4 separate regions of the Homo sapiens genome follow, and all the other regions are linked to region 3. The links are contacts of gene promoters, found by promoter capture Hi-C in blood cells and fetal thymus (Javierre and others, 2016). All regions are on one chromosome and are shown on one strand. Each heading gives the region's core, a stretch centred on a gene start or on the middle of the fragment in contact. The rest is flanking DNA. Distances are from core to core; before and after follow the strand shown.

Evidence for each region. The method cuts DNA at HindIII sites, captures the fragments that hold promoters and counts their contacts. A CHiCAGO score of 5 or more calls a contact.
Region 1: a fragment that was not itself captured here is called in contact with the fragment with the promoter of ERVW-1 in region 3 in 3 of 17 cell types (M2 macrophages, erythroblasts and M1 macrophages); the score reaches 5.8 in M2 macrophages.
Region 2: a contact is called between a fragment that was not itself captured here and the fragment with the promoter of ERVW-1 in region 3, in 2 of 17 cell types (M2 macrophages and erythroblasts). The highest score is 6.3, in M2 macrophages.
Region 4: a contact is called between a fragment that was not itself captured here and the fragment with the promoter of ERVW-1 in region 3, in 1 of 17 cell types (erythroblasts). The highest score is 5.5, in erythroblasts.

What each region holds. Positions count from the first base shown.
Region 1 is chr7:92,193,439-92,200,566 of GRCh38, reverse strand. It overlaps KRIT1 (KRIT1 ankyrin repeat containing), which reads left to right. Exons shown (of 19, transcript NM_194454.3): 19 at 1-1,154. Among named protein-coding and RNA genes, the nearest start is that of MIR1285-1, 7.1 kb to the left of the region's middle. The HindIII fragment of the contact is 2,647 bases long and covers 4,320-6,966 here.
Region 2 is chr7:92,124,579-92,131,155 of GRCh38, reverse strand. It overlaps CYP51A1 (cytochrome P450 family 51 subfamily A member 1), which reads left to right. Exons shown (of 10, transcript NM_000786.4): 3 at 2,100-2,276; 4 at 3,525-3,651; 5 at 4,729-4,903. Among named protein-coding and RNA genes, the nearest start is that of CYP51A1, 6.6 kb to the left of the region's middle. The HindIII fragment of the contact is 5,351 bases long and covers 1,460-6,577 here.
Region 3 is chr7:92,473,016-92,480,241 of GRCh38, reverse strand. It overlaps ERVW-1 (endogenous retrovirus group W member 1, envelope), which reads left to right and starts at 2,296. Exons shown (of 2, transcript NM_001130925.2): 1 at 2,296-2,860. It also overlaps a transcript of GATAD1 not described here. RefSeq lists enhancers at 1,983-2,014, 1,612-2,042, 1,932-2,076, 2,054-2,973, 3,111-3,612 and 1 more, cis regulatory regions at 1,612-1,920, 1,921-1,982 and promoters at 2,007-2,367, 2,074-2,406. The HindIII fragment of the contact is 16,290 bases long and covers 1-7,226 here.
Region 4 is chr7:92,153,494-92,159,759 of GRCh38, reverse strand. LRRD1 (leucine rich repeats and death domain containing 1) reads left to right here. Exons shown (of 6, transcript NM_001161528.2): 3 at 557-755. All of the region lies in intron 1 of CYP51A1-AS1 (CYP51A1 antisense RNA 1), which reads right to left. Among named protein-coding and RNA genes, the nearest start is that of CYP51A1-AS1, 22 kb to the right of the region's middle. RefSeq lists a silencer at 835-884. The HindIII fragment of the contact is 8,053 bases long and covers 1-6,266 here.

The DNA.
Region 1 (7,128 bases), core at 4,394-6,893, 280 kb after region 3:
AGCCTGGCCAACATGGTGAAACCCTGTCTCTACAAAAATACAAAAATTAGCTGGGTGTGGTGGCGGGCGCCTATAATCCTAGCTACTAGGGAGGCCAAGGTGGGAGATCGCTTAAACCCAGGAGGTGGAGGTTGTAGTGAGCCAAGATTGCACCACGGCACGCTAGCCTGGGTGACACAGCAAGACTCCATCTCAAAAAAAAAAAAAAATTACTTTCAACAAGGCATATAGTCTCTTGTAATATATATGTATACTATTACATTGTACAGAATCTGTACTTATGTTTGGTGTGTAATATACCAATTAGTTTTATATAATATCCTCATAAGCTATTCTAATTTTTGAGAGAAACACAAAAAGTTATAGATTGATAGTCTGTATAATATTAGACAAAATAGTAAGCTTTATAAAAAGTTATTTTTGGTAAATGGTAAGGAATTTGGGGTGGAATGTGATGAGATTAAAATGTAGCTTTGGTATAACTTCATGTGTATTTCAAAATATACTGAACGTCAACATGATTTGAATAAAGAAAATGTATTTTCTACTTGAACCACATAACACTGTTATTTAAAACAGTTTTCTGCAGTCTATAAACATTTCTCAACATTTTTTTAAAAGTCTTAGTTAAAATGTAAATCTGATATACAGTAGTGTTTCTCAAAGTATAGTTCATGAACTCCTTGCATCATAATTACCTAGATGCCTCTTAAAAATGAAGATTTCAGAGACCCATTCTAAACAAGGGCATTCACTCTCTGGAAGTAGCATGGCCTTGTGAACTTAAATTTGGTTTTGTTTTTTCTTTTTTGCTGTTAGAATAATTTCAGACCCAATAAGGAATTTCGATTATTAAAGTTGAGAAATTTCACAAAACTGCCTGGCACACAAGCACACACATACATAGACACATTTTAAGTGATAATCTCTTGATATTAGAAGTTGCATTTGTTAAATACATGCTGTATTTTTTATGAGTTGACTTAATAGTTTATGTATATTGACTTTGCTTTGTAGGAAGTAAATCACCAGATATCTTATTGTTTCATTTAGGAAAGTAGTGATATAGATGAAGAGCCAACTTGATGAATGTGCTATTCATAAGCTAGAAACTACAGTTTTTCCAAACTAATAAACTGATGAATTCTAAATAAGTTCAGAGATATAGTCATATTTAAAGTTGTCCTACAGTTTGCAGATAATTTTTATATTACTATTCTTCACATTAACTTCTGCTTATTTTTAATGGTACTATATGTAGGCCTTATTAAAATTAAGATTGTATGGTTAAGTAAAGTTAACAAGAAAGCCTGATTTATCTTTAATTCTGTGCTAGGTACTTTTGATTCTACATGAACAATACCCTTTTCAGTTCCCTTCATTCTAATGTCCTCAACTGTTACCAAATACCCTGTTGACTCCCAAACCTAAGATTTTAGCCTCAACTTCTTTTCTGAACTTCAAATCTTAATTTCCAAGTTATACTTGTTCTAGGTCCATCTAAATGGTCTACAGAGAACTTCAGTTGAATCATAGCTGGAAACAGAATTTATTTCCTCTATTTGCTTCATTCTGTCCTTCCACTATATTCCCTATTTGGTTAATGACATCATCGAACTGCATTCAGTTGCTTAGCCTGGAAATACTGTTACGGTGTTCAGCCGTTCCCCAACTTACATATTTTGTGGATCAAAGTCCTGTCTGATGTTTTGGGAGTCCTTTCTCATTTCCTTCCTCCCTGCTTGCACTGCAGCCAGTCTAGTTCAAGTCCTCACCATCCATTCTTTAGCTTGTAGTAGCTTCCTACCCCTGACTCAGGCTCTGTACCCTTCCTGCCTATCTGCCACACTGATGCCAAGTTAAGCTTTCTCATCAGTCCGATTATTTCATTACACTGTGAAAATCATTAATGGTTACCACTATATGTAGAATTAAATTCCGAATTCTTTAGTATTGAAACCAAGGCCCTTAGTACACTGTTGCTAAGCTGCCTATCAAGATTATTGTCTAACCACTTCTCCCATACTCATTCTATGCTCCCACTGTTTCCTAACTCCTCAGTCATGTGGGGAAATTCAGTACTTTCTGATTCAGTAATTTTAGAGTGAGACCCAAGCATTTCTGTTCTTGAAGTATTCTGTGTACTTACTATGTACAGTTAGGAATTAGAACTGTAATTATAAGCAACTTTAGGAGATAGCCGAATGTGTTTCCTTTCACAGAGAGAGGTGAGGATGCAGTGATACCACATCAAACAACCTCCTGCTCTGTGGAATACAGTTTACCCTCCTGAAGATGTACAGTATAGCAGCCCTAATAAGAAAGGAATAGGAGACTATTAGAGTAGCATAGTTATTAAAGGCTTAAAAATATATAGCATTAAAAATTCAATTTTAAAAATTATTATTGAGAAAAAAATTGATCATTATCTTTCAGACCATAACAATCCAGAAATAAAAATAGGGAAATCTAAACAGCTTTTAATGAATGCCTGGTATTGATCAGGCATTATATGTGCTGTAGGGATCAAGATAAGATACCATTTTCCTTTCATCATTCTTTCAGTAAATTTGAGTGCCTTTTATGTGCCAGGGACCCAGTGGTAAGGAAAACAAAATCCCTGCTTTCAGAGAACAAAGTCTGAGGGAGACAATAAATTATCATGGATATATGTAATTGTAACTCTAATTACTGTGATGAAAGAAAAACATCTCAGCATTAACAGGGACCCTTGATCTAGTAGGGATCAGGAGAGGCTTTCCTGAGCAAGTGATGCTTGAGTTGGCATCTGACATGTGAGCAGGAATTAGTTATGTGAAGGCAGTACAGCTGGAAGGGAAATGAGGTGAGATGTTTTGACCCCAAAAGACAGACCTGGAGAACTGATGAGGGGATTTACAATTACTCATTTTCAGTTGTGATCCAAATTCAAGTAATTGTTTATCCAAATCACAACAAATTAATTTTCATTATACAAATAAAACCAGAATAGCTAATACTGCACATGATAAATGTATTAGAGAAAACTTACTGAAGAACCACAAGATTAAAAATTGCCAAAATTTAGCCAATGATGGGCAAAAAAAGAAAAAAAAATAAGAAAAAAGTTGCCAAAATTGACCCTAGAAAAATTAGACTTGATAGAAATATTCAACAAAGTAAAACTTTCCGGTTATTGACCAAACTTAATAGAGGAATTGCATTAATAAAATTTAGATTTTTTTATTTGATCCTGAGAAATCAATGGCAAAAACTCTAAAAGAATATTTATTGATTGATTGAATGATTGAGACAGAGTCTTGTTCTGTCGCCCAGGCTGGAGTGCGGTGGCATGATCTCAGCTCACTGCAACCTCCGCCCCACTGGGTTCAACCAATTATCCTGCCTCATCAGCCTCCTGAGTAGCTGGGATTACAGACGTGCGCCACCATGCCCAGCTAATTTTTGTATTTTTAGTAGAGACAGGGTTTCACCATGTTGGCCAGGCTGGCCTCAAACTCCTAACCTCAGGTGATCCACCTTCCTCGGCCTCCCATAGTGCTAGGATACAGGCATAAGCCACTGTGTCTGGCCCTCTAAAAGAATTTATATGTGCAAAAAACGGATTGGGGAATCAATTTGTTGCCTTATCATTAACATAGAAAACAATGCTCTCAGTGAAAATAATTTCTGTCAAAGCATAATTTGTTTTTGCTGCACTGTGTAGAAAACTGATTAAGACACTTAATTGGCTTGAGGCTGGACATGGTTACTCACGCTGTAATCCCAGCGCTTTGGAAGGCCAAAGTGGGAGAATCACTTGAGGCCAGGAGTTCAAGACCACACCAGCCTAGGCAACATAGCAAGATCTCCATCTCTACAAAAATAAAAAATAGCCAGGAGTGGTGGTGTACATCTGTAGTCCCAGCTACTCAGGAGGCTGAGGTGGGAGGATTTCTTGGGCACAGGGGTTTGTGGCTGCAGTGAGCTATAATTGCACCATTGTTCTCCAGGCTGCGTGACTGAGCAAGCCCCCGACTCTAGGTAGGTAGGTTGGTAGGTAGATGATAGATTAGGTAGACTTGCATGCATGCAAGGATTAGATGATAGACCAGATAGGCTTGAATGCGTGTGAGAATAGATGGATAGAGACACAGAGAGAGATAGGATTGAGTGCATGCAAGAAAATATTTTCTCACCAAAAATCCATCTATGATGGTATGATTCTCATTTGATGTTTGTATTCATAAGCACGTCAGAAAACCTCTAGAATTATTTATGGTGTTTGGAGAGGGAGACATAGGCAGACTGTAAAGGCCCTAAAGCAGAAGCATCAAGCTTTTGGGGATCTTCGAGGCCAGAGTATTTAAGACAAAGAATATCTTTCAGACATCTTAGGGTGTAGATGAGAAAAACAGTTTCAATACATTGTGCTAATTTCTGTGATAAAAGGAAGTACCAGGTTGTTCAGGATTCATTGGAAGGGCACCCACATGGGTGGGAAATTAGGAACTTATGTCCCCATTATTTAAATTATAATAATAGCTACTACTTTAAGTGACACTTACTACACTATTGGCATTATTTGAAGCACTTTTGGGATATTAATTCATTTATTCCTGACAACAATCACTATGAGGCAGATACTATTATTCCCATTTTACAGATAAGAAAATTGAAGTTGGTTTAAATTACTTTCCAAACCAATGAGTGGTGGAGCTCAGATTCATACCTCGGCAGCCAAACTCCAGAGTATAAGTCAGTCAGATACATCATGTATGGTTATAATAAAAACATAAAATAATACTTGTTTTCTATCTTTAAAATCTTAGGAGCCATAGTTTCTAACAGAGTGATGTAAATGTTTTCATTTTTGTATATTGTATAACTTTGAACACAGTTGTATACAGAGAGGCTATGTTATTTGTGTAAGGTCAAAAACTAGTAAGTTGGGGTGTCAGAATTCAACATCTGGCAGTCTGGCTTCTGAATTCAGACATTTGTCAGGTAAAGGAGATATAGGTGGAGTGGTTAAACAAAAATGATCAAGTTTTGAAGGGTGTTGTGTTTCCTGTTTATGAGGAGCCATTGGAGCCCTTAGGACTTGATTAGCTCAGATGTGTGTGTTGAAAGATCACCCTGGGTCAATGTACAGAAGGGCTTAAAGAGGTGGTTCTGAGCAAGAAGGTATAATGCAATCTGGACTTAAGCTAAGATAATGGCAATGGGAGAAAATATTTTGACAAAACCCAGTGACCTTTTAGATATGGGAAATAAGGAAGAGGTAGGAGTAATGAGTAATTATCCTCTTTCTGTCCTGGACATATGGGAAAATGGTACCATATACTGCCTAAAATAGGGAATAGGGGAGGAAGTTTTGAAGAAATGTTTTGAGTTCCTGGCTCCCAAGGGACACATAGATGGAGATGGTCAATAGACAATAGGGTTCCCAGGCCTGAAGTTCAAAAGGCTCTCAGGAGATGACAATTGAAACTCCACGAATAGATTTGAAGCCACCCAGGAAGAGAGCACAGTGAGAAGCAAGCAAAAGAATGACAACACTTGAGAAATGGGCAAACTTAGGACAATCCACAAAGCATCCTGTTAAGTGAATATCAGTATAGAAAAGAAATAGCTTGGCACTATTCTCCATATGTGTATCCAATAGATTTTATATGGGCAAAATTTAAATATTAAAATAACATTTAATATTGCTAGGGAAAAGCAGACCAGCATATTTTAGTGTCAGAGCACATTCGCTTATGGATGTTTCTTAAATGCGTATGAGGGATAGGTGAATAAAATGCTTTTTAAATGTACATGAACAAACATCAAAAGCAAAGCAAAAGAATGAGGACCTGGAGCTCATACATGGCTAGTAGGAATGCAAAATGGAACAACCATTTTGGAAAACAGTTTCGTTTCTTGTAAGTTAAATATACTATAGGACCCGGCATTCCACTCCCAATTATTTATCTAAGCAGCTAAAACTTATATTCACACAATTCATATGCAAATGTTTGTAGAATACATCTTTAATTTTTTCATAATTAAACTGGGAGCAACCCAAATATCCTTCACTGAGTGAATGAATAAACTCAGGTACATCCATATAATGGCATACCACTCAACAATGAAAAGAAACTATTGATGAACAACATGGATAAAGCTCAAATGCATTATGCTAACTGAAAGAAGCCAGACTCAAAAGGTTATACTGTATACCGTAACATTCCATTTGGATAACATTCTGGAAAAGGCAAAACTGTAGGACCAGAAAGCAGATAGTGGTTACCAAAGGTTAAGGATAGGTGTGGGGGGAATATGGGAATATAAAGGGGCAGCATGGAGAAATTTGGTGGTAGGGGAGAGGATGTTCTGATTATGATTGACATAGTATATTTGTCAAAATTCACAGAACTGATTATCAAAGGAAATTTTACTGGACAAATTTCAAAATACACTTAAAGAATCAGCACTTGCTAACCAAGTTCTGAAAATTCAAAACTATATTAAGTTTTTTTTGTTTTGTTTTGTTTTGTTTTTTTGAGACAGAGTTTCACTCTTGTTGCCCAGGCTGGAGTGCAATGGCACGATCTCGGCTCACTGCAACCTCTGCTTCCCGGGTTTAAGTGATTCCCCTGCCTCAGCCTCCAAAGTAGCTGGGATTACAGGCATGGGCCACCATGCCCAGCTACTTTTTGTATTTTTAGGAGAGACAGGGTTTCACCATGTTGGTCAGCCTGGTCTCGAACTCCTGACCTCAGGTGATCCACCCACCTCGGCCTCCCAAAGTGCTGGAATTACAGGCATGAGCTACCTTGCCCAGCCAAAAATTAAGATTTAACTAGAAATATGTCTGTACCCAAAATCCATTTAGTGAGTGGTCAAAGAAGATTAACAGAGAAGTTGTATGCTTGGAAATGCAAATGAATTTTAGAAATGGGGAAATATAAATTTTCCTAACAAAAATGTAAAACAGAAGCTTATTAAATTAGTTAAAATTATATGGAATAATAAAAACTGATTATGTTAATAAAATTGAATGATAGCACAAGACTGAGACAACATATGGGAATATATTTTGGCCAGCCCTGGAAAGCAGTCTCAAAAATGTTTTTGTTTTTGAGAGAGTCTCACTCCGTCACC
Region 2 (6,577 bases), core at 2,886-5,385, 350 kb after region 3:
ATCTTGCATTCCATTTACTTTCTCCTGATCCATCAGCCTTCATTCTTCACTTTCCTCTTTCCGCTTTGGGTCCATGGCATGTCGTTTCTGTTACACTCTTGGCAATACTGTACTTTAAATTTCCTCGACCCCGCATCTTTTCATTGTGTTCAGCTGGCAGAAGTCACCCTTGGAGGCAGCCAGTTATTGTCTCCTTCTGCACCAGATTAGTTTCTTCCTGATTTTATGATTGCCTACCTTAATGATATTTGAACACTGCTCCACAGTCCTATTATGTTCTTGTGATTGGGCCTACTTTTCCACTCATTACAGTGACTAATTCAAACCTTCACTTTTCTAAACTTCTGAATCTTTCTACCTCTCCATCAAAGCAGATGATTTTTTCTCCTGTTTAGGAGACAATGATTAAAAACGTTGATTTAGGAGACAATTATTAAAACATTCAAAGAAAACTTCCTCATTTTCTCAATTTCAAATATGCAAACCTACTTGTATTTATATAGTAATCCTATTCTCTTTCTTCCTATCACAGTAATAATTATCAAACACTTACTTTATGCCAGTACTTAGTGCTTTACAAAGATCATCTCACTGAAGCTCCACAAAAACCCTTTCAGGTATATTTGTTTTATAGATGACAAAACTGAGAAGCAGAGAGGATATATAATTTCTTCTTGGACTCACTGCTAGACAGTGGCCAAGCCAGGATTTACACATGGTCTGATTTCTGAGCCTATACTTTTATTAATGATAACAATAATGGAAAACAAGTCATTAAGATGCTAAGTAAGCCAAGGTACTCTTCTCTGCCCTGTATATAAAATTTGGCAGCAGCTCTGTGAAGAACTGCTATTATTATTATTACCATTTTATAGGTGAGAGAAACGAAACACAGAGAGACTAAGTTCTCTGACTATAGGACCAAAGTCATACAGCAAGTAGGTGGAGGAGCTGGGATTTGAACACGGACAGTCTGGCTCACTGCGTTCTACCACTTTGATTTTATTACAACTATATTTTGCCTCTTATCGGAGGCTGAACTCTCCATCCCTCTTTTGTCTCAGGAACTTTTTACTTTTATTTGTTTTCTCAGTGTATTGTTGACTTCTTTTTCAATGGCATCTTTCCTTTTTCTCTGAAAAATTCTTGTCACCCGTTTAAAAACTTCCTCAAAATGGCTTATGAGGCTCTGTATGGTCTAGCACTGCCTAATGCTCAACTCTCATCTCCTCCTTTCTCTTTCTCTTACTTTTAGGGCCTTTGTGTATGTTTAGCTACCAAACCAGCTCCTCATTCTTCTGGTCTCAACCTAGTTGTCTTTTCCTCTATTAGGTCTCCCTTTTTTAGATTCTCTCATCACAGAGTTGCTTTCCTTTCTGTAATACTTGTCACATTTGCAGTTTTATGTTTGTTAATGTGATTATTTGATTAATTTGTATTTTTTCCAATAGACTAAGCTTGGTGAGTTGGGACAGTATTTTTTTTCATGATTATACCCCCAGAGTCTAGTCTTCAATCATAACCAGAAAACTGCAAGGGAAAGTATTTAACATCTAACCAAATTAATATAAAATAAAAAATGAAGTCATTTAGTGTAGGTGAGATAGTGCTAAAATAGATAAATAAACTTGTAGTGTCTTCACATAGCAGGTACTATAGAAAAGGTCAAATTCTTTGGCTAGTCTTGTAAAATTTGTTTTTAACCAAAGGGGGAAGAAGTCTATATTTTCAGAGGTGTTCATCACAGAATTAGCTGTAATAACTAAAGAAAACCCTGACATATCACCCATATGTCCAATAATGAAAGAGTAGTCAGTAAATTAACATTGTGATGTTTATATAGACAATAGAAAACATTGTCAATATAAACTGAAAAAAGCATAATAAACAGTTATATTTATACTACATTTGCAACTAAATGAACATAATTATAAATTTGGACAAAGGAAGGAGGAGTATGGCAAGATGAAAAGAATTGCTTTAAGGTTTATATATGTTTTTATTTTTTTAATAATGCATTATTTTGTGATTTTAAAAAGTTACTGTCGTAGTGTTGCATATTTTTTGTAACATCACTATATGTACTTTTCTCTTTTTAGTATGGACCTGTATTTAGTTTTACCATGGTAGGCAAGACATTTACTTACCTTCTGGGGAGTGATGCTGCTGCACTGCTTTTTAATAGTAAAAATGAAGACCTGAATGCAGAAGATGTCTACAGTCGCCTGACAACACCTGTGTTTGGGAAGGGAGTTGCATACGATGTGCCTAATCCAGTAGGTGACACTGTTACCATAAATAAAGACAAATCTATACCTCAGTAGTTATAGCTAATAGTGAGACATTATACATTTAAAATGTAGAAACAGCCAGGCATGGTGGCTCATTCCTGTAATCCCAGCACTTTGGGAGGCCAAGGTGGGTGGATCACTCAAAGTCAGGAGTTCAAGACCAGCCTGGCCAACATGGTGAAACCCTGTCTCTACTAAAAATACAAAAATTAGCTGGGTGGGGCTGGTGGTGCACACCTGTAAATTCCAGCTACTTGGGAGGCTGAGGCATGAGAATCGCTTGAACCCAGGAGGCGGAGGTTGCAGTGAGCCGAGATCACAACACTGCACTTTAGCCTTGGCAACAGAGTGAGACCCTGTCTCAAAAACAGAAACAAAAAACCAAACACACACACACACACGCACGCGCACACACACACACACACACACACACACAGAAACCAACCAAACAAAAATGTAATAAAATGTAGAACCAGTTTATTCCTTGGTTCAAAAGTCTGAAGAATCATGAGAAGAAAGGCCATGGATAACTGATAAGTAATGGGTATTTAGTTTTATATTTGCTGTCATGGCTAAACAATATTAAAGGGCTTCCTGTACAAATAATGGAATCAATGATAACTTAGCATACTGGGATTTAATTTGAAAGGGTTATTAGACAATGCTGTTACTTCATCAAAAGGACTTCCTGCCTACCCATTCCTGCCTGAAATTCTAACATAAGCGCTGTTTAGAGATTGCTGACTTCAGAAGTCCTCTTTTAATGCAACAACTTCACGTGTGGGGTACATCTATGTGTATGTTTTACCCTCAAAAGCCAAATACGAAATTGTTTTAAGTTGATATAGAACACAAATCAGACAATTGGCCCCAATGCTTGGTATGGGCTCTGGCTGTGAATGTAACACACATTAGCCAGTACCCTAGTATAGCAGTTAAGAGTTAACATTAAATCTTGTTTCTAGTGATGGGGAATGAGGGAATGAATGCCTCTCCTTAAGGCCAAAAAACAGGGCCCTGGAAAATCCCTCTGTTCAGATATATATATTCATTTAGACTCTATTCATTTAGAGTCAGATAGATCTATTCATTTAGACTCTTAAAATGTAAATGCCCAAAGGGTTAAAACCATTACTTGTGTTAGTGTTACATAATTATAATAACCTAAATGGATTTTATGATAAAACAAAAATGTGTTTTAATGCCGTATCCCCGTTTTGAATTTTTTTGAAGGTTTTCTTGGAGCAGAAGAAAATGTTAAAAAGTGGCCTTAACATAGCCCACTTTAAACAGCATGTTTCTATAATTGAAAAAGAAACAAAGGAATACTTTGAGAGTTGGGGAGAAAGTGGAGAAAAAAGTAAGCAAAATGTTTTATGTTTGTCCTAACATTTCTACTTCTCTGTGAATAGAAAAGTAGAGTATATATGTGTGTAGTATATAAAAAACAAATTACAGTGTATGTAAAACTACCTTAGATTTATGGGAGGGTTATGTAATGATTACCATGAAGTTGTAACTGAGAATCCAGTTTTTATACTGGGCTGCAAGTTAAGTATTGCCTTCAGAAGCAATTGCTGTGCCCATAGTAGGAAGCAACATCTGCCCACAGGGCAGCAGGACCCAGGGCAGCAGGTCACTATATTCTGGGTCTGGCCTTTGGCCTCTGTAAGAGTTCCAGAATCTTTGTTTTTGGTATACTTAAGTTGATATTGATATATTTTCTAACCATACAAGAAACTGATGTATAAATTAGAATGCCAATGTAATAATGCATGTGAGACATATAATTACAGCACCAAGAAATCCAGAATATTTACTGATATTCTTTTTATTGACAAATATAATTGGAAAGCCAGATGATCATTGGAAGTTCATTTAGTGAATGTGGAATTAACAGGAAATTAATTGGATAATTTTTATTAGTTGTCATCAAATTATGCTTGCCTGGTGCATTTGTCTCCAGTGTTGGGATATACTAATTGGTGATTATAGTTTTCTTTTACATATCGCCAGTAATTCCATTTTGGCCCTGATCTTCCTACTTTTAACCTGGGAAATAATCTGATCTTTGGCTACTATTCCTTGGGAAGTACCTTATTATTGTCATATGCACTATAAATAACCTTTTTTCTGCTTTTGTTATTGTGACCTGGAAATCAAATAACCACATTTATTCTTTTCATGATGAAGTGCTCATGAGTGGGGTTTTGAGATGTGTTTCTGGGATCTGTTTTGGCTGTTTAGAGGGACAGGGTGCTTCACATTGTTTGGTTTATTGCCCCTCTTTGTTGTTGTACATAGTCACATGTCTGTCTACAGACTTTTTTTGATGATATGAATAGGATCTTGTTTCTTCTTGAGTTCTGTTTTTAATTCTCAATTTTCTTTCACTTTTTGGAAATAGTAATGAGAATAATCTTTTTTTTCTCCCTAGATGTGTTTGAAGCTCTTTCTGAGCTCATAATTTTAACAGCTAGCCATTGTTTGCATGGAAAGGAAATCAGAAGTCAACTCAATGAAAAGGTAGCACAGCTGTATGCAGATTTGGATGGAGGTTTCAGCCATGCAGCCTGGCTCTTACCAGGTTGGCTGCCTTTGCCTAGTTTCAGGTATGGATAAAGAATATATTACACTAGGTTATTTAACTTTGTATAATTATTGTAGTGTTGGTATGCTTTGCCTTAACAAAGATAAAAATTAAACAAGTAAAACATACAAAATGGGTAAGATTATGAATCCCCTTTCTTCTATAAGAATTCAAGACAAATTTTCTTTATATAATGAGCTCATTTAAAGTAAGTTTCAGTTTATTAAAAAGGTGATTTGTTGTCTGTCTAGTCTAATATTTTATTTATGTTTTTGTTTTTGAGATGGAGTCTTGCTCTGTTGCCCCAGCTGTAGTGCAGTGGTGTGATCTCGGCTCACTGCAGTCTCTGCCTCCTGTGTTCAAGCAATTCTCCTGCCTCATCCTCCTGAGAGCTGGGACTACAGGCACGTGCCACCATGCCCAACTAATTTTTCTATTTTTAGTAGAGACAGGGTTTCATCATGTTGGCCAGGCTGGTTTCAAACTCCTGACCTCAGGTGATCCACCTGCCTCAGCCTCCCAAAGTGTTAGGATTACAGGCGTGAGCCACTGAGCCCAGCCTAGTTTAAAAGCCTGCTTACCTCACGTATTCCTTATCCTCAGGAAAGTCTCTGAACTATACCTAAAAGTGATACAGCTCTTCTCTAGCACTTGTTTGAAATCTTTGGTGGCTTTTTATTGTATTGTGAAGTTTCTTTGTTTTAAATATTTGTGCCTTTATTTAATTTTCTGTTTCTTAAGGACAGGGACTGCCTCTGATATAAAGAAATATTGCTCTTAGGACTTGATCTATAGCTTAGTGCTTAGTGTTTTGCATATTAGTAGGCTTTCTGTACTTTTGTTGATTTATTGGTGTTTAGGTGACAGATGGGGAGGAGATAGATTGCTAGTCCCTTTTCTTCTATTTCTGCCCCCTCTATCTAGTTACAGATTGGAAGAGGGGTGGGAGTAAAAGGAAGAGCCAGGAGAGATTCCCTAAAGTTCTCTGGAACTCATCATACCTTATATTTGCAAGGAGCTTTGCAGTTTCAAAATGTTTTCATATATCTTATATTAGAACACCCAGCACAGCCCTGGACTCATAGTGGGTTCTCCATAAATGTGCATTTCTTTTTTTTTTTTTTTTTTTTGGTGATGGAGTCTTGCTCTCTCGCCCAGGCTGGAGTGCAGTGGCATGAGCTCGGCTCACTGCAAGCTCTGCTTCCCAGGTTCACGCCATTCTCCTGCCTCAGCCTCCCGAGTAGCTGGGACTACAGGCACCCGCCACCAAGCCTGGCTAATTGTTTTGTACTTTTAGTAGAGATGGGGTTTCACCGTGTTAGCCAGGATGGTCTTGATCTCCCGACCTTGTGATCCGCCCGCCTCGGCCTCCCATAGTGCTGGGATTACAGGCGTGAGCCACTGCACCTGGCCCATAAATGTACATTTCTACCTGCCTGTTTCTACCTGCTCTGTCTCTTGGATGAAGTCAGAGCTTGCTATGTTAGGCCCTTCACATTCTGGCCCAGTCTTTCTTTCTTCTACTCATACCAACTAATTTAACCAGATTATTCAATTCACTTTCTTAAACAGGCCTATGTTTTCCTGGTTCGACTGTATTCATACAGTTAAGCCCCAACATCTTCTCTTCTGTACACATGGTTTCAGTTGATCCTCAATAACAGATTAACAGTCTTGTAAATGAAACAGAGTAGGA
Region 3 (7,226 bases), core at 1,047-3,546:
TCTTCCCTTCTGTCAGACATAATTCCTTGGGTTGGCCTTCCCACCTCTATACAGTCCAATAACGGAGCAGCCTTTATTAGTCAAATCACCTGAGCAGTTTTTCAGGCTCTTGGTATTCAGTGGAACCTTCGTACCCCTTACTGTCCTCAATCTTCAGGAAAGGTAGAATGGACTAATGGTCTTTTAAAAACACACCCCACCAAACTCAGCCTCCAACTTAAAAAGGAGGATAGAGCCCAAAAACTCGCAACCAAGCTAGTAATTATGCTGAACCCCCTTGGGCACTCTCTAATTGGATGTCTTAGGTCCTCCCAAATCTTAGTCCTTTAATATCTGTTTTTCTCCTTCTCTTATTCGGACCTTGTGTCTTCCGTTTAGTTTTTCAATTCATACAAAACCGCATCCAGGCCATCACCAATCGTTCTATACAATAAATGCTCCTTCTAACAACCCCACAATATCGCCCCTTACCACAAAATCTTCCTTCAGCTTAATCTCTCCCACTCTAGGTTCCCATGCCGCCCATAATCCCTCTCGAAGCAGCCCTGAGAAACATAGCCCATTATCTCTCCATACCACCCCCAAAATTTTTGCTGCCCCAACACTTCAACACTATTTTACATTATTTTTCTTATTAATATAAGAAGACAGCAATGTCAGGCCTCTGAGCCCAAGCCATCATATCCCCTGTGACCTGCACATATACATCCAGATGGCCTGAAGTAACTGAAGAATCACAAAAGAAGTGAAAATGGCCTGTTCCTGCCTTAACCGATGACATTCCACCACTGTGATTTGTTCCTGCCCCACCTTAACTGAGCAATTAACCTTGGGAAATTCCTTCTCCTGGCTCAAAACCTCCCCCACTGAGCACCTTGTGACCCCTGCCCCTCCACTACCCACCCAAATCCTATAAAATGGCCCCACCCCATCTCCCTTAGCTGACTCCTTTTTTGGACTCAGCCCGCCTGCACCCAGGTGAAATAAACAGCCTTGTTGCTCACACAAAGCCTGTTTGGTGGACTCTCTTCACAGGGACGGGGGTGACAACAACACGGACACACATGGAGTGGTTTTAAGGAGCAGAGAGTTTAATACGCAAAAAAGAAGGAAGAGGCTCCCCTGTACAGACACAGAGGGAGGGGGCTCCAAGCCGAGAGAAGGAAACCCCATGTGCAGTGGAAAAGTGGTTGATTATACTGGGAGGCTGGAGGAGGCGGTGTCTGATTTGCACAGGGCCCAGGGGATTGGGTTGACCAGGTGTATCATTCATGTACCCCGCAAAAAACCTGGCCCTCCCACCTCAGCCCTTTAATATGCAAATGTGGGTTGCCATGATGTTCTGAAAACACATGAATTATCTGGAGGGGGCCATGACACTTGGTACATGTGCTGACAAGAAGAGGGTGGGAATCGCCATGGTGGCCATGTTGGGTGGACCTAGTTTTTAATAGCCTGCATTTGCATATCAAAGTTTGCTGGCCTGGCTCTTTAAGCTGTCTTTTCTGTTAGAAAAGGAATGGTTTGGAATGGGTGAGGGTTGCTTCTTATTACAAGAAAATTTCCAAAAACCTTTACTCTTTCTAGCTGCCAAAAAACTATTTCTTAATAACTTATGTATTACCATAATTAGGCAGCACCAAAGATCCCTGCAGGTCAGACCACTGCAATTAACATGCTGGCTTTACTGCTGATTATGGTAGCTGCATCCACCTAGCCTCTCATATTGCAACTGCCTGACCTCTGCCACCCCACGAGCCACTTATCCCCACTTATAATCAGCCCATTTCGATTGTAACATCTGCCACTTATTCCCGACGTTGTGGTATATCCTATAGATGAATTCATTCAACATCCATTCCAACACCACCTCTCTTGCCTTCCTATACTCTCTGGAGAGTGAATTACTGAGTCACATGATCTTCACTGCAGTCATTTGTGGCTATGTGACATAGTTCTGGACAGTGAACATAGACAGAAGTCCCTGGGGCGGGCTTCCTTTCTGGGATGAGGGCAAAACGCCTGGAGATACAGCAATTATCTTGCAACTGAGAGACAGGACTAGCTGGATTTCCTAGGCCGACTAAGAATCCCTAAGCCTAGCTGGGAAGGTGACCACGTCCACCTTTAAACACGGGGCTTGCAACTTAGCTCACACCTGACCAATCAGAGAGCTCACTAAAATGCTAATTAGGCAAAGACAGGAGGTAAAGAAATAGCCAATCATCTATTGCCTGAGAGCACAGCAGGAGGGACAACAATCGGGATATAAACCCAGGCATTCGAGCTGGCAACAGCAGCCCCCCTTTGGGTCCCTTCCCTTTGTATGGGAGCTGTTTTCATGCTATTTCACTCTATTAAATCTTGCAACTGCACTCTTCTGGTCCATGTTTCTTACGGCTCGAGCTGAGCTTTTGCTCACCGTCCACCACTGCTGTTTGCCACCACCGCAGACCTGCCGCTGACTCCCATCCCTCTGGATCCTGCAGGGTGTCCGCTGTGCTCCTGATCCAGCGAGGCGCCCATTGCCGCTCCCAATTGGGCTAAAGGCTTGCCATTGTTCCTGCACGGCTAAGTGCCTGGGTTTGTTCTAATTGAGCTGAACACTAGTCACTGGGTTCCATGGTTCTCTTCTGTGACCCACGGCTTCTAATAGAACTATAACACTTACCACATGGCCCAAGATTCCATTCCTTGGAATCCGTGAGGCCAAGAACTCCAGGTCAGAGAATACGAGGCTTGCCACCATCTTGGAAGCGGCCTGCTACCATCTTGGAAGTGGTTCACCACCATCTTGGGAGCTCTGTGAGCAAGGACCCCCCGGTAACATTTTGGCAACCACGAACGGACATCCAAAGTGGTGAGTAATATTGGACCACTTTCACTTGCTATTCTGTCCTATCCTTCCTTAGAATTGGAGGAAAATACCGGGCACTTGTCGGCCAGTTAAAAACGATTAGTGTGGCCACCGGACTTAAGACTCAGGTGTGAGGCTATCTGGGGAAGGGCTTTCTAACAACCCCCAACCCTTCTGGGTTGGGGACTTGGTTTGCCTCAAGCCAGCTTCCACTTTCAGTTTTCTTGGGGAAGCCGAGGGCCGACTAGAGGCAGAAAGCTGTCGTCCTGAACTCCCGGCAGTAGCCGGTTGAGATCATGGTGTAGCCAGAAGTCTCAACAGTCGCCCATGCATGCACCCCTATCTTTCCTTCTGACCCATACCTCCTGGGTCCCAACCACAACTTTCTTCAAAGTGTAGCCCCAAAATTCTCCTTACCTCTGAATATACTTCCTCTGATCCCTGCCTCCTAGGTACTATTGGTTCAGACTTCCATTTCCTCTAGCAAGTTGTATCTCCAAAGGGATCTAAGGAAGCTCTGCGCTGCGTCCTTAGGCACCTAGGCTATAACCCAGGGAGTCTTATCCCTGGTGTCCCTCCCAATTTAGGCATACAGCTCTTGACATGGGCAGTTATGTAGGACCCACTCCCCACCACCCTTGCCAGGGCCCCAAGTTTGTAAATGGCTGAGGGAAAAGAGAGACAGAGGAGAGAGAGAGAAATGGAGGAGAAAGAGAGAGAGACAGAGAGGAGAGAGAGACAGTGAGAGAGACAGAAGAGAGAGAGAGACAAAGAGGAGAGAGAGAGAGTCAAAGAGAGAAAGAAAGAGAAAGAAATAGTAAAAAACAGTGTGCCCTATTCCTTTAAAAGCCAGGGTAAATTTAAAACCTGTACTTGATAATTGAAGGTCTTCTCTGTGACCCTATAGCACTCCAATCCACTTTGTGGTCAGTGTAAATAAGAGCATAGGCCGAAAGCACTGAGGCCATTGACAACCCGTAGCTTCCCTATCAAAAATCCTTAACCCAGTAACCCGCAGATGGACCAAATGCATTCAGTCGGTAGCGCAACTGCTTTGCTAAAAGTAGAAAAGTAACTTTTAGAGGAAACCTCATTGTGAGCACACCTCACCTGTTCAGAATTATTCTAATAAAAAAAGCAAAAAGGTAGCTTACTAACTCAAAAATCTTAAAGTATGGGGCTATTCTGTTAGAAAAAGGTAATGTAACTCCAACCACTGATAATTCCCTTAACCCAGCAGATTTCCTAACGGGATTTAAATCTTAATTACCATACAAAGGTCCGACCAGACCTAGGCGGAACTCCCTTCAGGACAGGACGATAGATGGTTCCTCCCAGGTGATTGAGGAAAAAAACCACAATGGGTATTCAGTAATTGATACGGGGACTCTTGTGGAAGCAGAGTTAGAAAAATTGCCTAATAACTGGTCTCCTCAAACGTGTGAGCTGTTTGCACTCAGCCAAGCCTTAAAGTACTTACAGAATCAAAAGACTATCTCAATCCTGATTCAAAAGGTTAGCTACACCCTCTCTGTAATGCATTTGCATAAGAACTTGTTTATGGGAATGCATCTTGATGGGGCAGCTGGGTTGTTATAAAATAGGAACCCAGCCCAGCTCTAGGACTCACCCCTGAGCGCAAAGGCAATGTTGGGCATGCTGGTAAAGGACCACTAGAATCCAGCAGCCCAGACCCCTTTCTTTGTGGTCAAGAAAGGCGGGAAAAGGGGTGCAGGACTGCTACATCGGTAAGCATAACTAATCCGATAAACAGAGGTCCATGGGTGGTTACGCACCCTGGAAAGGAACTCACCCCTGAGCACAAAGGCAATGTTGGGCACGCTGGTAAAGGACCACTAGAATCCAGCAGCCTGGACCCCTTTCTTTGTGGTCAAGAGAGGCAGGAAAACAGGTGCAGGACTGCAACATCAGTGAGCATAACTAATTCGATAAGCAGAGGTCCATGGGTGGTGATGCACCCTGGAAAGAATAAGCATTAGGACCATAGAGGACACTCCAGGACTAAAGCTCATCGGAAAATGACTAGGGTTGCTGGCATCCCTATGTTCTTTTTTCAGATGGGAAACGTTCCCCGCAAGACAAAAACGCCCCTAAGACGTATTCTGGAGAATTGGGACCAATTTGACCCTCAGACACTAAGAAAGAAACGACTTATATTCTTCTGCAGTGCCGCCTGGCACTCCTGAGGGAAGTATAAATTATAACACCATCTTACAGCTAGACCTCTTTTGTAGAAAAGGCAAATGGAGTGAAGTGCCATAAGTACAAACTTTCTTTTCATTAAGAGACAACTCACAATTATGTAAAAAGTGTGATTTATGCCCTACAGGAAGCCTTCAGAGTCTACCTCCCTATCCCAGCATCCCCGACTCCTTCCCCAACTAATAAGGACCCCCCTTCAACCCAAATGGTCCAAAAGGAGATAGACAAAAGGGTAAACAGTGAACCAAAGAGTGCCAATATTCCCCAATTATGACCCCTCCAAGCAGTGGGAGGAAGAGAATTCGGCCCAGCCAGAGTGCATGTGCCTTTTTCTCTCCCAGACTTAAAGCAAATAAAAACAGACTTAGGTAAATTCTCAGATAACCCTGATGGCTATATTGATGTTTTACAAGGGTTAGGACAATTCTTTGATCTGACATGGAGAGATATAATGTCACTGCTAAATCAGACACTAACCCCAAATGAGAGAAGTGCCACCATAACTGCAGCCTGAGAGTTTGGCGATCTCTGGTATCTCAGTCAGGTCAATGATAGGATGACAACAGAGGAAAGAGAATGATTCCCCACAGGCCAGCAGGCAGTTCCCAGTCTAGACCCTCATTGGGACACAGAATCAGAACATGGAGATTGGTGCTGCAGACATTTGCTAACTTGTGTGCTAGAAGGACTAAGGAAAACTAGGAAGAAGTCTATGAATTACTCAATGATGTCCACCATAACACAGGGAAGGGAAGAAAATCCTACTGCCTTTCTGGAGAGACTAAGGGAGGCATTGAGGAAGCGTGCCTCTCTGTCACCTGACTCTTCTGAAGGCCAACTAATCTTAAAGCGTAAGTTTATCACTCAGTCAGCTGCAGACATTAGAAAAAAACTTCAAAAGTCTGCCGTAGGCCCGGAGCAAAACTTAGAAACCCTATTGAACTTGGCAACCTCGGTTTTTTATAATAGAGATCAGGAGGAGCAGGCGGAACAGGACAAACGGGATTAAAAAAAAGGCCACCGCTTTAGTCATGACCCTCAGGCAAGTGGACTTTGGAGGCTCTGGAAAAGGGAAAAGCTGGGCAAATTGAATGCCTAATAGGGCTTGCTTCCAGTGCGGTCTACAAGGACACTTTAAAAAAGATTGTCCAAGTAGAAGTAAGCCGCCCCCTCGTCCATGCCCCTTATTTCAAGGGAATCACTGGAAGGCCCACTGCCCCAGGGGACAAAGGTCCTCTGAGTCAGAAGCCACTAACCAGATGATCCAGCAGCAGGACTGAGGGTGCCTGGGGCAAGCGCCATCCCATGCCATCACCCTCACAGAGCCCTGGGTATGCTTGACCATTGAGGGCCAGGAGGTTGTCTCCTGGACACTGGTGCGGTCTTCTTAGTCTTACTCTTCTGTCCCGGACAACTGTCCTCCAGATCTGTCACTATCTGAGGGGGTCCTAAGACGGGCAGTCACTAGATACTTCTCCCAGCCACTAAGTTATGACTGGGGAGCTTTATTCTTTTCACATGCTTTTCTAATTATGCTTGAAAGCCCCACTACCTTGTTAGGGAGAGACATTCTAGCAAAAGCAGGGGCCATTATACACCTGAACATAGGAGAAGGAACACCCGTTTGTTGTCCCCTGCTTGAGGAAGGAATTAATCCTGAAGTCTGGGCAACAGAAGGACAATATGGACGAGCAAAGAATGCCCGTCCTGTTCAAGTTAAACTAAAGGATTCCACCTCCTTTCCCTACCAAAGGCAGTACCCCCTCAGACCCAAGGCCCAACAAGGACTCCAAAAGATTGTTAAGGACCTAAAAGCCCAAGGCCTAGTAAAACCATGCAGTAACCCCTGCAGTACTCCAATTTTAGGAGTACAGAAACCCAACAGACAGTGGAGGTTAGTGCAAGATCTCAGGATTATCAATGAGGCTGTTGTTCCTCTATAGCCAGCTGTACCTAGCCCTTATACTCTGCTTTCCCAAATACCAGAGGAAGCAGAGTGGTTTACAGTCCTGGACCTTCAGGATGCCTTCTTCTGCATCCCTGTACATCCTGACTCTCAATTCTTGTTTGCCTTTGAAGATACTTCAAACCCAACATCTCAACTCACCTGGACTATTTTACCCCAAGGGTTCAGGGATAGTCCCCA
Region 4 (6,266 bases), core at 2,048-4,547, 320 kb after region 3:
ATCCCAGGTACTCAAAAGGCTGAGGCAGGAGAATTGCTTGAACCCGGTAGGCAGAGGTTGCAGTGAGCTGAGATCATGCCATTGCCCTCCAGCCTGGGTGACAGACCGAGATCTCCGTCTCAAAAAAAAAAAAAAAAAAGCAATGTTGATAGGACTAGTAATAAGGAGATCAAATGTGGGATGGAGTAGTTGGAAAAGACTTCTGGGAGGGGGGCGGGAAAGAAGCCAAAACAGGGTCAGATTTAGGGAGAAGAGAATGGGATAAGGAGGTAATGAACACTGAGTGATGGGAATGTGAGCAAAGTGGGTTGCAAGCCACAGGGTTGAATTAGAAGCATTGGTCAGATTGGGGAGGTACTTGGATGTCGCACAATATCTTGTGGGTTTTAGTCAGAAGGGAGAGTCAGTCACAAAGAATTTGTGACATAATAAAAAATCTCCTTTTTAAGACAAAAACAAAAACAGACAAAACTCTTTCATTTGATTTTAGAAGAAGTTTTAGTCATGCAAATATGTATGTATTTATAAATGTATAATTGTGTAATCTTTGTTACAGCTAACAAGACTTCCAGGAGAGCTATCTAATATGACTCAACTTAAAGAACTTGATATCTCAAATAATGCAATCAGAGAGATTCCAAGAAATATAGGAGAATTGAGAAATTTGGTTAGTTTACATGCATACAATAATCAAATAAGTTATCTTCCACCATCTTTGCTATCTTTAAATGATCTGCAGCAACTAAACCTGAGTGGTGAGTGTCAAGCATAATCAGTAAGCATAATCAATAAGTAGAGTATTAATGTCTGAGTTGCAAATTTTGCTGACAAGATACAGAATGGCAAAGAGTCAACATAAGGTATTAAGTCACCATTAGAAGGAAATGACTGTCCTAGGTACAGAAAATGAAAGCAAAGTATAAGGTCCAGTTCCTGCCTTGAAAGAGTAGGAGAGCCTGAACATATTTTCATTTATTTTCTCTCTTCTCTGCCTATACCCAGTCATTTAGTATTTCTTCCCTTTCTGAACCCAACCTCACCTCTTCCTCTACACACACCTACACAACCTCAGGTCAGCATTTTTTCTGCGTTTCCTTCTCTGTTGGCTCCCCTGATACTTCTCCTATACCCTATAATACTCTAATACCTTACATGGAGTCATTTACAAGGTAAAGCATTACAATAACCAAAACAAAATAAAAATGACATTGTAGATAAGAAAATAAACCACTCACTCTAAAGATATCAGAAAAGATTTCCCAAAGTACAACAAATACTGCGTTGATTATATATATATATACACACATACACACATATATATGCACATATATGTACACATATATACATATATACACATATATACACATATATATTTATCTGTTTGTTTATTTATTTATTTATTTTGAGACAGGGTCTCACTCTGTTGCCCAAGCTGGAGCACAGTGGCAAGATCATGGCTCACTGCAGCCTTGACCTCTCTAGGCTCAGGTGATCCACCTGCCTCAGCCTCCCAAAGTGCTGGGATTATAGGGGTGAGCCACCATGCCCAGCCAGCAGTGTCTTTAAATGCCTAATCTTGGAAGTGACATAACATCACTTCTGCTCTATTCTATTGATCACACAGACCAACCTTGGTATAATGTGGGAGGGGACTACACAAGGGGGTAACAGGAGGTAGATATCATTGTGGGCTAACAGATAGCCCTAATTCTATTTGAGTAATTGAATTTGTAGTTAAAAGCTCTCATACAAAGAAAATTTCTAGCTCAGATAACTTCACTGGTGAATTCTATAAAGTATTTTATAGAAGAAACAATGCCAATTTCAAAAAGGATTCACTGGTGAATTCTTTCAAGTATTTCAAAGAAGAAATCATTAAGTTAGGCCGGGCATGGTGGCTCATGCCTGTAATTCCAGCACTTTGGGAGGCCGAGGGGGGCGGATTGCTTGAGGTCAGGAGTTTGATGCCAGCCTGGCCAATATGGTGAAACCCCGGCTCTACTTAAAAAAAAAAAAATTAGTCAGGTGTGGTGGGGCACACCTGTAATCAAAATCAAAACTACTCAGGAGGCTGAGGCAGGAGAATCGCTTAGACCCAGGAGGCGGGGGTTGCAATGAGCTGAGATTGTGCCACTGCACTCCAGCCTGGGCGACAGAGTGAGACTCTGTCTGAAAGAATGAAGGAAAGAAAAGAAAGAAGAAAGGAAGGAAGGAAGGAAGGAGAAACAATGCCAATTTAAAAAATTCTGTCATAAAATTGAGGATACAACATGTCTCAGTTCATTCTGAGGCCAGCATTATCCTAATACCATAATAAGACAAAGACATTACTTGGAAACTTACAGAATAACATCCTGCTTGAACATCGATGCAAAATTCCTTAATGAATTAAAGCAAATTAAATCCATCAATATAAAAAATGATATCATATTGTGACCAAGTGGGATTTACCCTGGGAATGCAAGGTTGAGTCAATATTCAAAAACTAATCCATGTAATTCACCATCTGAACAGGCTTATGAAAAGCCATGTGAACTTCTCACTGTAAGTATAAAAAGCAAAGCAAGCAGATGTGGTGGTTTATGCTTGTAATCCCAGCTACTTGGGAGACATAGGCAGGAGGATTGCTTGAGCCCAGGAGTTTGAGGCTGCAGTAAGTTATGATTGTGCCACTGCATTCCAGCCTGGGCAACAAAACAAGACCTCATCTCAAAAAAAAAAAAAAAAAAAGCAAATATCATATGAAAAAATACAATTTCCATTCAAGATTTTCAAAAACAAACAACAACAAAAAAACTCTCAGCAAGCTAGAAATAGAAGAGAATTTCCTCAACTTGAAAAAATACATCTGCAAAACTCCTATAGCTAATATCACACTCCATGGTAAACGATTTATTTTCCACTATGATCAGGATTAAAGTAAAGTTCTCCTTTCTCACCACTTCTTTTTGACGTTATAACTGGAATCCCAACTAGCACAACAACACAAGAAAAAGAAATAAAAAGTAAATAGATTGTGAAGGAAGAAGAAAAAATTATTTCTGATAACAGAGACACGTTGTCTAGGTCAAAAATCCCAAAGGATCTACAGAACAAGTAAGTTTAGCAAGATTGCCGTATACAGAGTTAATATACAAAAATCAATCATATGTCTACAGACTAGCAAGAAATGATTGGAAATTGATTTCTTTAAAAGTACAATTTAAAATGGTACCAAAACCATAAATAAATCTAACAAATTACATATAAGATCTATATGCTGAAAACTGTAACATAGATAAAACTAAATAAACCTAAATAAGTAGAGAGATATATAGTGTTTATAAATTGGAAGACAATATTGTTAATATGTCAGTTTTCCCAAAACTTATCTTTAAATTCAACTCAATTCCAACAAAATCCTAGCAGAGTTTTTTGTTTCAGAAAACAATGAGGTAATTCTAAAATGTATATAAAAAGTCAAAGGAACTAGAATAGCTGAAACAATTTTGAAGAAGAAAAACAAAGTTGGATGATTCACACAACCTGATTTCAAGACTTATGCAAAACTATAGTCATGAAGACAGTGATAGTATTGGCAAAACAACAGACATAAGGATCAATGGGACAGAATAGAGAGTCTAGAAATAGATCCACAATTATGGTTAATATTGAGTGTCAACTTGATTGGATTGCAGGATGCAAAGTATTGTTCCTGCATGTGTCTGTGAGGGTGTTCCCAAAGGAGATTAACATCTGAGTCAGTGGACTGGGAGAGGCAGACCCACCCTCAATCTGGGTGGGCACAATCTAATCAGCTGCCACCTTGGCTAGAATAAAGCAGGCAGAAGTACGTGGAAGGACTAGACTGGCTGTGTCTTCTGGCCTCCATCTATCTCCCATGCTGGATGCTTCCTGCCCTCAAACACTGGACTCCAAGTTCTTCAGCTTTTGCACTCTTGGACTTACACCACTGGTTTGCCAGGGGCTCTAGGGCCTTTGGGCCTTTGGCCACAGACTGAAGGCTGCACTATTGGCTTCCCTACTTTTGAGGTTTCGGGACTTGGACTTGCTTCCTTGTGCCTCAGCTTGCAGATGGCCCATTGCAGGACTTCACCTTGTGGTTATGTGAGTCAATACTCCTTAATAAACTCCCTTTTATATATATATATCTATCCTATTAGTCCTGTCCCTCTGGAGAACCCTGACTAATACACCCACTATATGGTAGTCCTGTCCCTCTAGAGAACCCTGACTGACCACTATGTGGTCAACTGATTTTTGCCATGGTAGTTCCCCCTTATTCACAGTTTCACTTCCATGGTTTTACTCATGATCAACAGTGGTCTGAAAATATTAACTGGGAAATTCCAGAAATAAACAATTCATAAATTTAAAATTGTGCACTTTTCTGAGCAGTGTGATGAAATCTTGCACTGTCCTACCTGGGTTGTGAATCCATTCACTGCATGTGCTCCCTGCCTGTCAGTCACTTAGTAGCAGTCTCAGTTATCAGATCCACTGTCACAGTATCACAGTGCTTGTGTTCATGTAACCCTTATTTTACTTATTAATGGCCCTAAAGCACAAGAGTAGTGATGCTGGCAATTTGGATACACCATAGAGAAGCCTTAAAGTGCTTCCTTTAAGTGAAAAGGTGAGAGTTCTCAACTTGGAAAGAAAAGAATCATATGATGAGGTTGCTAAGATCTACGCTAAGGACGAATATTCTATCGATGAAATTGTGAAGACAGAAAAAGAAATTTGTGCTAATTTTGCTGTTGCACCTCAAACTACAAAATTACAGCCACAGTGCATGATAAGTGCTCAGTTAAGAAGGAAAAGGCATTAAATTTGTGGGTGAAAGACATGAACAGATGTGATCTGATTGACAGCAATCATGTTTGATACTGTATTTGGTTTGTAGGCATCAGCTGGGGGGTCTTGGAAGGTATCTCCCATGGATAAGGAGGAACTACTGTAATCCAACAGAGAAAGAACATTATTTTCAACAAATATTGCTGGATCAACTGGATGTCCAAAAGCCAAAACAAAACAAAATAAAACAAAAACAAATAAATAACCACAATATAATTTTGATCCTACACACTATATAAAAATATTACCTCAAAATGAATCACAGACCTAAATGTAAAAGCTAAAACTACAAAACTTCTAGATAAGAACATAGAAAAATATTGTTTTGCAAAAAAAAAAAAGTGAAAAAATATTAAAAGGCTGGGTGTCATGGCTCATGCCTGTAGTCCCAGAACTTTGGGAGGCTGAGATGTGAGGATTGCTTGAGACTCAGGAGTTTGGGACCAGCCTGGGCAACATGGGGAAACCCCATCTCTACAAACAAAATACAAAAAAATGAGCTGGGCATGGTGGTGCACTCCTGTAGTCCCAGCTGCTTGAGAGGCTGAGGTGGGAGGATCACTTGAACCCATGAGGCTGAGGCTGCAATGAGCCAAGATCGTGCCACTGCACTCCAGCCTGGGTGACAAAGCCAGACCCTGTCTCAAAAAAAAAGGTGAAAAAAATCAAAACTTTGGCAAGGATTTCTTATATACAACACTGAAATTACAATCCACAAATAAACATAATTGATAAATTGGTTTTCATCAAAATTGGAAACTTCTCTGCTGGGCGTGGTGGCTCATGCCTGTAATCCCAGCACCTTGGAAAACCGAGGCAGGTGGATCTCCTGAGGTCAGGAGTTCGAGACCAGCCTAGCCAACATGGTGAAACCCTGTCTCTACTAAAAATACAAAAAATTAGCCAGGCGTGGTGGCAGGCGCCTGTAATCCCAGCTACTTGGGAGGCTGAGGCAGGAGAATCGCTTGAACCCAGGAAGCGGAGGTTACAGTGAGCCAAGATGCTGCCACTGCACTCCAGCTTGGCTGACAAGAGCAAGACTAAAGGCTTTTTAAAATTTTTTTATTTTTATTTTTTTTTTACAGCAGAGTCTTGCTGTGTCATCCAGCCTGGAGTGCAGTGGCACGATCTAGGCTCACTGCAGCTTCTGCCTCTGGGGTTTCCTGCCTCAGCCTCCTGAGTAGCTGGGATTACAGGCGCCTGCCACCATGCCCAGCTAATTTTTGTATACTTTTAGTAGAGATGGGGTTTCACTATGTTGCCCAGGCTTCTCTCAAATTCCTGACCTCAAGTTATCCACCCGCCTTGGCCTCCCAAAGTGCTGAGATTATAGGCATGAGCCACTGTGCCCAGCCCAAAAGACATTTTTTAAAAGAATGAAAAGCAAAGCCATGGATTGGAAGAAAATA